Regions from separate parts of the Homo sapiens genome. Here regions 1 and 2 are each linked to region 3. The links are contacts of gene promoters, found by promoter capture Hi-C in blood cells and fetal thymus (Javierre and others, 2016). All regions are on one chromosome and are shown on one strand. Each heading gives the region's core, a stretch centred on a gene start or on the middle of the fragment in contact. The rest is flanking DNA. Distances are from core to core; before and after follow the strand shown. Region 1 overlaps MITF (melanocyte inducing transcription factor). Region 2 overlaps TAFA1 (TAFA chemokine like family member 1). Region 3 holds the start of TMF1 (TATA element modulatory factor 1).

The links. Contacts are between HindIII fragments. The CHiCAGO score rates a contact against its expected background, and 5 or more counts as called.
Region 1: a fragment that was not itself captured here is called in contact with the fragment with the promoter of TMF1 in region 3 in 1 of 17 cell types (M0 macrophages); the score reaches 5.2 in M0 macrophages.
Region 2: a fragment that was not itself captured here is called in contact with the fragment with the promoter of TMF1 in region 3 in 2 of 17 cell types (total CD4 T cells and naive CD8 T cells); the score reaches 6.0 in total CD4 T cells.

The regions. Positions count from the first base shown.
Region 1 is chr3:69,825,889-69,829,051 of GRCh38, forward strand. All of the region lies in intron 1 of MITF (melanocyte inducing transcription factor), which reads left to right. Among named protein-coding and RNA genes, the nearest start is that of MITF, 88 kb to the left of the region's middle. The HindIII fragment of the contact is 1,039 bases long and covers 936-1,974 here.
Region 2 is chr3:68,054,847-68,058,283 of GRCh38, forward strand. All of the region lies in intron 2 of TAFA1 (TAFA chemokine like family member 1), which reads left to right. Among named protein-coding and RNA genes, the nearest start is that of TAFA1, 52 kb to the left of the region's middle. The HindIII fragment of the contact is 2,823 bases long and covers 777-3,437 here.
Region 3 is chr3:69,050,538-69,053,802 of GRCh38, forward strand. TMF1 (TATA element modulatory factor 1) reads right to left here and starts at 1,796. Exons shown (of 17, transcript NM_007114.3): 1 at 1,408-1,796. The coding sequence starts at 1,549. RefSeq lists an enhancer at 1,388-1,857. The HindIII fragment of the contact is 2,649 bases long and covers 1-2,034 here.

The sequences.
Region 1 (3,163 bases), core at 205-2,704, 780 kb after region 3:
ATCTCTAATGATTTATTTCTTTATATTTATATATTAAGATTTACAAAACTTGGAAAAATATGATATATACTTTAAAATTAAATGATATTTTAGTCCACATTAAAAGAATAGATCAGTAAATGTCTTGTGCAGGTGCATCTTTTTAAAATTTTACACTACATATATTGAAGTGGAATACATAGAGAGGAGAATGTACATATTATAAGTGTACACCATGATGATTTATTGACAAACTGGACTCTCGTTAACCAGCCCTCAGGTAAACTAATTGAACATTACCTGCACCCTAGATGCTTCCTTCCTGTGCCTTTTATTCACTACCCCTCCCAAGGTTAACCAGTATCTTAACTACCAACTGCATAGATTAATTTTGCCTGTCTTGTCCTTTATAGAAATGGAACAAGCCATATGGTCATATAGTAGGTACTTACTTGGGCCTGGCATCTTTTGTTCATGATTATGTTTGGGAAATTGATTCTTCCTCATTGCTGTAAGTAGTTATATAGTTCATTCATTTTCATTTCCATATAGTATTTCATTATCTAATCCTACTAGGATTTAGTTATCCATTCTACTGTTGATGGATATTTGGAGCCTTTTCTAATTTGGGGCATTTACAGTGAGGCTATGAACATTCATTATAATTACTTTTAAAAACTTTTGGACATTGGAAGACAGCAAAATGTGAGGTTGAAGACACAAGCTTGGAGTTAGACAACTCATTAACTGTTCAGTCTTGGTCTAGTTCTTTATGTTCATGAGCCTGTCTCCTCATTGGCAATGGGCTTACTAATACCAGTTGTGCAGGGTTTGGGAAATAATGGAATAAAATGATGGATACTGTGCACAGTGCTTGACACATAAGTACTCAAATAATGGAAGCTGCCATTACTTTTTAAATTAAAGTTTTATACATTATAGCAAAGTATCAGCCAAGCTTATTTTACTATTTGTATCTGGTTGCTTGTACACAGTGTTTTTCATTTTCTCAGGGCCTGCACATGCTTTATCTTTGGAGTAATGTTTGATTCTTTATCTTTCCTTTCCCTTCCTCTCTGCCACAATTATTACCTGCCTGTTGTATTCTAGGTACTGGGGACAGGAACTGAATAAATGAGCAGACATTATTCATTCCTGAGTTTTCTTCTCAGTTTTTGCTGTTGTATTAGCCTACATCCTCCTCTTCTCATGCCATCCTCTGAATGCTAACATTGCTCTTTGACAGCCTCTCACCAGTGTAACCCATCCTATCTGAGGGGGACAGGATCATCTTTCTCCAGTACCACCACTGCCAGTTGAGTTCTTTAGTGAGGACTTGAGAAAATTCAGCTTTACCCTCAAGTCTTCAACAGACACTGTGGTGCAGGCTTTTCTCCTAAAGATGTGGATGTGCAGTGAGACAAAGCCACTGTATCAGTCAGCAGAGGCTAAGTTTTGCTGCATTAACAAAGGACTCCAAAATTTTATGACTTACAAAACTCACAGATTGACAGTAGCTCTGATCTTTGTCCAATTCCTTCTGAAACAAAGGCTTAATGAGCACTATCCATTTGGGACATATTTGTCTTGAATAGGAGAAAAAAGGAAACGGAGGAACCACAGAGTGGCTCTTAGAACTTCTGCTGGGAAGTGGCATATGTCACTTGTACTCACATTTGTTTGCCTACAACACGTCAAGCCTGATATCAATGGGGAGGGAAATATAAACCTCCCAGAGAGAGCAATCGGTAGGAAGGGACTTGGCACAGAGTCCCTTGGCTCAGTCATGTTTTAAACATGTTTTAAACACTTCCATTGAATCAGTGGACATGACTTTTGGAATATAATTCCCAATTTATTTTCCCTTTTTTTTTTGACCTTCACATCACTTTACTGTCAAATCAGCAAACTGGCAATGCACAAGATATACAGAAGACCAAGGCTCCAAATTAGTGGCCCAGGCACCCTGATGACTTCCTGTTTCTCAGAAAAGTAAGCTTGGGCAGCAGTGACCTCCACAGCCTATGATAAATGAGGAATCAACAGTTGCATTCCATAATTCAATAAATAGTTCTTCCTTCTGCCAGGTGATGTGATGGAAGCTCTGTGCAGCTTCAAAGTAAGAGTTGACTTCTGCGTCTATACAATTCTTGTCATAAATGTGATCAAGTATATCTTTACCTTTCTATACAGTTGGCCCAAGGTATGATTACTGGCATGGGTGCCAGCTAATAAGTAAATCAGTCAGTATTGACACCATGTTTAGCCTCAAGCATGCTTTTCTCTGGAATGCACATTTGGATGAACTTTGAGGAAAATTATTAACTCACCCCAACTTAAGGAGCTTTGACCGACCAGAGATTTCAGGATTATGTGTACATAGTTTCAAACGTTGTATTTTAAGATGAAGAATAATTTAAGAAGATTAGTGAGCATCCTTCATTAATCTGGAGCTATTTTAGTAATAATAAAAAAGGGCAACTTGTTTTCATCTTAGAAGAGTAATAGGTCAGTTTTATTTATAGGTGATATCTAATCAATTTTTTATTTAGCTTGTATAGGATGATTCTCAAGTAGATAATGTTAACTCACCTAGAATAAAGGAAACCACTTGTTACCTAAGTATACGACATTTTAATAGCTTTTAAAAAATTCACCATACTAGTTTACACAATAAAATGTTTCTATAAGTCTGTGTATATGTATATATAAATATAGAAGGTAAATATACAGATTATATTATATAAATAGATAAATATAAAATCACCATGGTATTTTGATATATAAAATGAGTCTCATTATAATGATTCCACTAAATGTACAACCTGTTATAAAATGAGTGATAATCTGACCCTCATTTCTGTGTTTTAATCTTGGGATGATTTGAAGTAAGGCATAATCATGTATGAACATATTCCTGGAGTCTGACATGAGCATCATGAACTTGCTAATTTTATTCCTTGATGGTTTATATAAGTGTCTGACAAATTTAATAGGAAGCAGAGCTTTATTTTTTTTCATTATCAGCTAGAGAACAAAAACATTGGCATCTGAATTGAATACTGGAATATCGTGTGAGTGTGTGTGTGTGTGTGTGTGTGTTTTACTAAGATTCATGCCACTCAAAGTGTGACCCATGGACTGGACTGCTTCATGAACTGTGTGGTGCTGTCCTACAATATGC
Region 2 (3,437 bases), core at 938-3,437, 1.0 Mb before region 3:
TATTTTAAGATCTAAGGTTATAGCACTAGTTACATTATTAGACAAGTTTATGATCCTCAATTTCTTAATCTAGTACTACGTATGTTTGTCTTTTATTTATTTGGGGTAGACTATGCTCTGAAGTTTTTATAATGAGATATGTACCTCTATGCCTTGGTTTAGGGTCTCCCACAAGCAGACCTTCAGGCAGTTGTTTTGGTGGAGGCATCTTATTTGGATGGTAAGAAAACATGAACAGGAGTGGGGAAGTATGAAAGGAAAGGGAAGGCAGTCAAAAAAGAGTTAATTACCAAGCCACCTGCCATAGTGCGTGATAGAAACTTAATCCCCTGAAGAAACTCTGGGAAATCTGTAAAGCACACAACTCAGAAACACCTCACCTAAGGGCTGAGGAGCAGAGGAATTTATAATCCAACTCTTAAGTGTCATCGGTAGATACTCATGTGTGTGTATGTATGCGGGGGGCAAGAGGTGGGATGGTTTGATTCTTTGTTTGCCTTGTATGGTGAATGCCTCCATATCAATAAACTCCATTACCCAGCACTATATTTTGCTCCCTTCCCCTACCCCAAGGGTACAGAACTCTCAAAGTTCACTGCCACACCTGTTTTCCTAGTTTCGGTAGCTACCTATTAACCAGAACTTGAAACACAGTTATTAAATAATTCTTTACTTCTTGAAGCAGAGTAAGTGCTTCCTTACTCAAGCCATATTAGAACGTGGGGACAGATCTTGAGGAAGGCAAGTATCATCTCCCAAGGCTGCCTCCTAGGTGAAGCTTCTGCTTGGTCTCCCAGCAAGGAAAGGATGCTATATTCTAAGAATAAGATGTAGATAACTTCTGAAGTCTCAGAGGGTTAAGGAGAATCTGAGAGTTCAAGAGTCTGGAGTGCATTTACACAGATGTCCCTTTCCCTGGACATATCTCAGGGTTTTCCATCTTCTTTATCTATGCTCTGCCTTAGAATGTTGGCTGGGGCTGTTGCTTCAACACTCTAGACAGTTCTCTCACATCAGGTCCTAGCCCCGATTTTCAGCCTGATCTTTTCTCTGCCTGCAGAAGATGAGAGTCTCTTTAAATGATGCCGGAGAGGCCTCTGGCTTTCCATACTGAACCCTGGGTTGGTGTTCAGCTCACTTGAGCCTGTCATTTTCTTCTTTCAGCTCATTGATGGTACTTGGTCCAACTATCCAATTCCATAATCTTTCCAATGGCCAATGCCACCCTATCTCTCAAGTGCTAGAGAAATTGCATAAGCTAGTGCATCCTCTTCCAGCTGTGCCCCATCCCAATTCAATCTTAGGTAAGAGTCTCAGCAGTTATGATTTCATAGCACACCATTCCACTCGTGACTAGCAATGGTAATTTTGTTGCCATTTTGCTAGTTTCTAGCTGCAAAGACCAATTCTAGAGATCTGTTTCCTAGGACCACTTTGAGTTCCAACCTGAGTTCTCAGGTTTTAGTACTGAAAGTCCCACATCCTGAAAAGCTACAAGTTCTAGGCAAATTTGAAATGCTTTTCCTGGGACTGTCTTGGTTTTAAAATTGCAAGTCCCATGTCCCAGGAACACCCTCTGTCCTTACCAAACCAGATGGGTGGTCACCCAAGTTTCAACTGTGTAATTACTCCAGAATTAGATCCTGAGGTAGATCCAGGTTTATTTTGGAGATGCAAAACGCTTTAATATGATACAGTGAAGATAAGACAGCCAATCAATAAAAGAAACATTATTAAGCCAGATATCCCAGTGAGCAACCAGAGCTTAATCCCATGGGAAACTCCAGGAAATAGGGCAAAACACATGCTTCAGAAATTTCCCAGTAGAGAAGCAAGGGTGTGGGAGATTTACATGCCAATTTCTGAGAGTCATTGGCAAAGGGCTACTCCTAGAGGGTTTTAAATTCCAGGCACTTTCAGCCTGCTGGCCACGAATAGTATGGTTTGATTGTAGTTCCAAGAAAAAAAGCAAATTCTGGCTTAAGTATGCAGACATTGGCAGCAGGAATTTGGTGGGAGACTCTGAGGGGTCTGGATGAGACGAGTAGGGAAAATTAGCATTTGTTACTGCTCACCCCTTGCAATACCCAGATCCATTTGTGACCCCTGTTAAGTTGACATCATCATAGTAAGGGAGTGGCTGACTGGTCACGACTTATTACAGGAGTTTTTATGGGAAAAGCTACAATTCTGCCCATCATCTCTCTTCTCTAACACACGTTTTAGGTTCCTCTGCCCTTGGCCAGCAATTTGATTTCCCCAGTGAGGGCAGAGCATCCTCTCCTGAACCTGAATCAATGTATATTTCACCCTCTTGAATTGGGAGCTAGGAATAGAAACTCATAGTTTGTAGATTTGGCAGTGTGATAATTCAAATGCTGTCTAATGGTCCATAGTTAGAGATATTTCAGTTATCTATGTTATGGGGCCGAATCTCATCACTTGAAACAGAACTCCTGTATTCACCCAAGGCCAGCTCGTTCTCATCAGTGTTGAAAAGAGGTGATCCTGTGTATTTTCTTCATCCCTCTATTGCACATCACATTAATCATTTTACTGCATTAATGAGACAATATCAATTCCAATGCTTCATTTAAATATGGAACTTCATCTCAGGAAATGTGCTAAGGTGGAAGCAATCTGCTTCCTTTCCCTTTTTATACATTAGAAACAATTTTTAATTGTAATTTTATAACTTGGTCATTGCAGTGTGTGATATGCAAAATAAGGGCTCTCCCTAAAGATGTGCGTATCCCAATCCACAGAACCTGTGAATGGGTTACCTTACACAGCAAAAGGGACTTTGCAGGTGTTTTTAAATTAAGGATCTTGGTATGGGAAGATTATCCTGGACTACCTGAGTGGATTCAATGTAATTACAAGAATTCTTGTAAGTGAAAGATACAGCCTCCAGTGAGAGTCAGAGAAGGAAATGTGACGACAGAAGCAGTGGGTGGAGTGGCACAATGGTTGGTTTGAAGACAGAGGAAGTGGTCATGAACCAAGTGATGTGGGTGGCTTCTAGAAGCTAGAGAAGGCAAACAATGGATTCTCCCCTAGAACCTTCAGAAGGAGTGCAGCCCTGCTGACACCTTAATTTAAGACACCTGAAATGCATTTCAGACTTCTGATCTCACTGCAAGGTAATACATTTTTGTATTTTAAACCACTAAGTTCATGGTAGTTTGCTACTGCAGCAATAAGAAACTAATCACAGGTGTAAAGGATGACAATCATCTTTGCAGCTGAAGTGGAAGCAGTGATGTCTCTACTTCTGCTGGAACTATAGTATAGATGCTAATAATCTAGTTAGTGAAATCAAGTTCACAGCTCTATCACTTACTCGCTATGTGGCCTTGAGAAAGTTATGCAACAACTTTAAGGCTTGGTTTCCTCATCTGTAAGATGGGGGAAATAAGGATTTGTATCTTATATTG
Region 3 (3,265 bases), core at 546-3,045:
CTAAATTATACCATTCTGAAGACTATGGGCATTTTCCGAAAACAAATATCCTTATATGTAAAACCTATATTCTATCTTATCTAAAGTTTAGTAATTCTAATTAACTGGGGCACATATGAAAAAACAGAGTTACTCCAGCAAGGTTATATGACATCTTGTAAAAAGTAAAGAGGATCATCACATACACACATGGACCAAAATATCTTAAACTGAGGTACCTCAAATTTAGGTCCTGACTTTTCAATGATGTAAAATTAAGAACAGAAACCAGAAAGGAGTAGTCAAGTACATCTCTTATCCTTTTTCACACAAAGGTTCACATCCCCCAACACCAGCAAATCTTTACCCCACACATCAAATGCTGAACTGTTCCTTAGACTTAAGAGTCAAAAGCAACTGAATGAAGATCCCTGAAAGATTAAGCTCAATGAAACTGCAAAGAGAGACTTGGCTATTCAGAAATAAAATGTGATACCATCCAGAAATCTTGGGTCACACATTTTCCGGCTAATACCTCCGGCACATTCTAATCCTCCTCCGCCGTGTGACCTAGAGCAAGTTACTTGGCCATTCTGGGCCTCATTTTCCTCTTATGTAAAACACGGATATAAACCAAGCTCTCTCTGGGAGTTGTTCTGAAGATGAGAAGGCCATAAAAAAGCACATTACAGGCTCGTGCCTGTAATCCCAGCACTTTAGGAGGCCGAGGTGGGTGGATCGCCTTAAGTCAGGAGTTCCACCAGCCTGGCCAACATAGTGAAACCCCGTCCCTACTAAAAATACAAAAAGTTGCCGGGCGTGGTGGTGGGCGCCTGTAATCCCAGCTACTAGGGAGGCTGGGGAAGGAGAATCGCTAGAACCTGGGAGGCGGAGGTTGCAGTGAGCCGAGATCGCGCCACTGCACTCCAGCCTGGGCGACGGAGTGAGACTCCGTCTCAACAACAACATAAAACCACATTACGCGCTACCAAGCGCGAAATGTTCACTGACTGTTAGCGATTGTTCTTCCCTTCCCTGATGATTTACGTACTTCAGACCTTGGATCCCAACAGTGCCCGAGACGCGAAGCAATTCGAGGTTCAGGTTCGGGAAGGTTGTGCTTGGAAGCTGCGTCGAGGGAGAGCTTGAGGGCAAGACCAACCAACCAAGTCCCCTGTCATCCAAGTCCACAAGCCTCGCACCCAGGACCAAAGAAAGACAAGGGGGAACCTGGATCTGGGTTTTCCCTCAGGAAAACAGCAAAGACCGACTTGGAGGCTGAAGCAGCATTAGGGAACGGGCCGGGGAGAAATTACTTCCTGAAAACTCTCTCAGCAAGGAAGGACCCCTCTCTACACCACTTAACCTGCCTGCATCAAGAGAACAGCAGCCTCCGGGAGCCAGGAACCCCGCTCCTCTCTCTCTTACCCGGCTCTCCATACGGAATGGTCTCGGCCCAGATGCTCGGCTCCTCTTCCTGGATGTCCAGAACCCTGTCAATAGACTTCTGGGCCTGGGACAGGGCCTGCTTAGCGAAGCTGGAGAGCTGGGAGGCGTTGAACCAACTCATCGCCCCTCCTCAGCCGGCAGTGGCGGCGGCAGCACCAAGCGGGAAGGCCTCAGGCCTGGGGAAGGGTGCAGAGGAACGGCTTCGCTCCCCTTTTCCACTCGGCTGGTTCTGTCAGCGTGTGGCCATTACCCCGACAGCCTCCCGCGAGCCCGGGATGTTACCCTCGGCCGTTCCCGCACAGCTGAGACGAAGGGGGCCCATGTGCGCATGCGCTTGCTTCTTCCACGTACACAGCAACCAAATCTACGAGCCCAGAGTTCGGTCGACAGACGGAAGAACAGAAGAACGTTGACGTCACATCCGGGAGCGCAGGGTTGCCGTTAGTTACCGAGGAACGCGGAAGGGTTTCTATTGATGTCGATTTCGTGCTTACAGCAGTTCTTAGCGAAGGGGAAGCTATGGCTACCGATAGAGGTCGATTTCCCCGGAAGGAATATTCAAGTTTTCGTGTGTGTGCTTTCCAGGAAAATAGTTCACGTGCTAAAAGCTTGCACCTTGCCAGCAATAATTGCAAAGGGAAATTGGGCCTCACACTTCTCTTAGCCCTTTGTCTCAAATATTTAATAAGCTCTGTATTAACTTGGTATTGTAAGGAGAAACACTTGTTTGGGCTTGCCTAAAAGACAGGATCACGTATGAACACTGTGTCCAACTCGTGGAACACATGGTGCATAAAGCACAACCTCTCTCTCAAAATAGTAGTAAACTCATTGCTGCAGTCAAAATACCCCTAATACTGTGGTCTGTCGGTGTCCCCTGCACAAATTCCTATGTTGAAACCTAATCTCCAATGGGACAGTATTAAGGGGAGCCTTTAGGAGATGATTAGATGATGATGGAGCCCTCATAAATGGGGTTAGTGCCCTTATAAGAGAGGCCCAAGGGAGCTCACGGCAAGAAGGCACCAACTCTAAGCCAGAATAGCAGCCCTCACCAGACACCAAATCTGCCGGCTCCTTATCTTGGACTTCTCAGCCTCTAGAACTGTTAAGAAACAAATTGCTACTGCTTATAAGCCACCCAGTTTATGGCAATTTGTTACAGCAGTCCAAATGGACTAAGACACCTAGGAAGCACTAAAGCTGTTATCCTAACAATGTGCACTGTGCATATTACTTAAAACATAACCTTTTCTGTGTGCATTCTCTTCGAACATTTGGACATGGGAAAATACCTTAAATTGGTGGCCTTCCTAATCCAGTCTGCAGCTATATTTGGTTTGGGCCCAAGTTAAAGACAAAATCCTAACTAAAAGCCAGATTTCATTCAAAAATCTAGATTTCCAGCTGCTTTTGAAAAATATGAATACCAAGCATGGGAATAGTCAGCCAGAGTGGTCACCAAATAATTTTCACTCACTCCAGTTTGCCACAGACCCCTATCACTCATCCTATTACACCCTCCCTGCTGTGATTATTTACCTTATATGCCTGCCTCCCATATTTGAATATTTTACCCCACTGCAAGGAACTCTGCAAAAAAGAATTATTTTTCTTTTAAAAAATCAGATTGAACCCCTTAAGAAGTTATAATCATCTTCCAATAATTTTATCTAACTACAGTAAAAACTTGCATGTTAAAACTAACAATTTAGTCATGTACACAAGTAGTACCAAGTAACTCAAGTACTTTCAAACAGCTAAGTAGTCTGCAGAGGAGATTTGGGGCAGATTCGGGTTGAAATTAGCTGTACAGTTACAGTTCCAAGACTTCTAA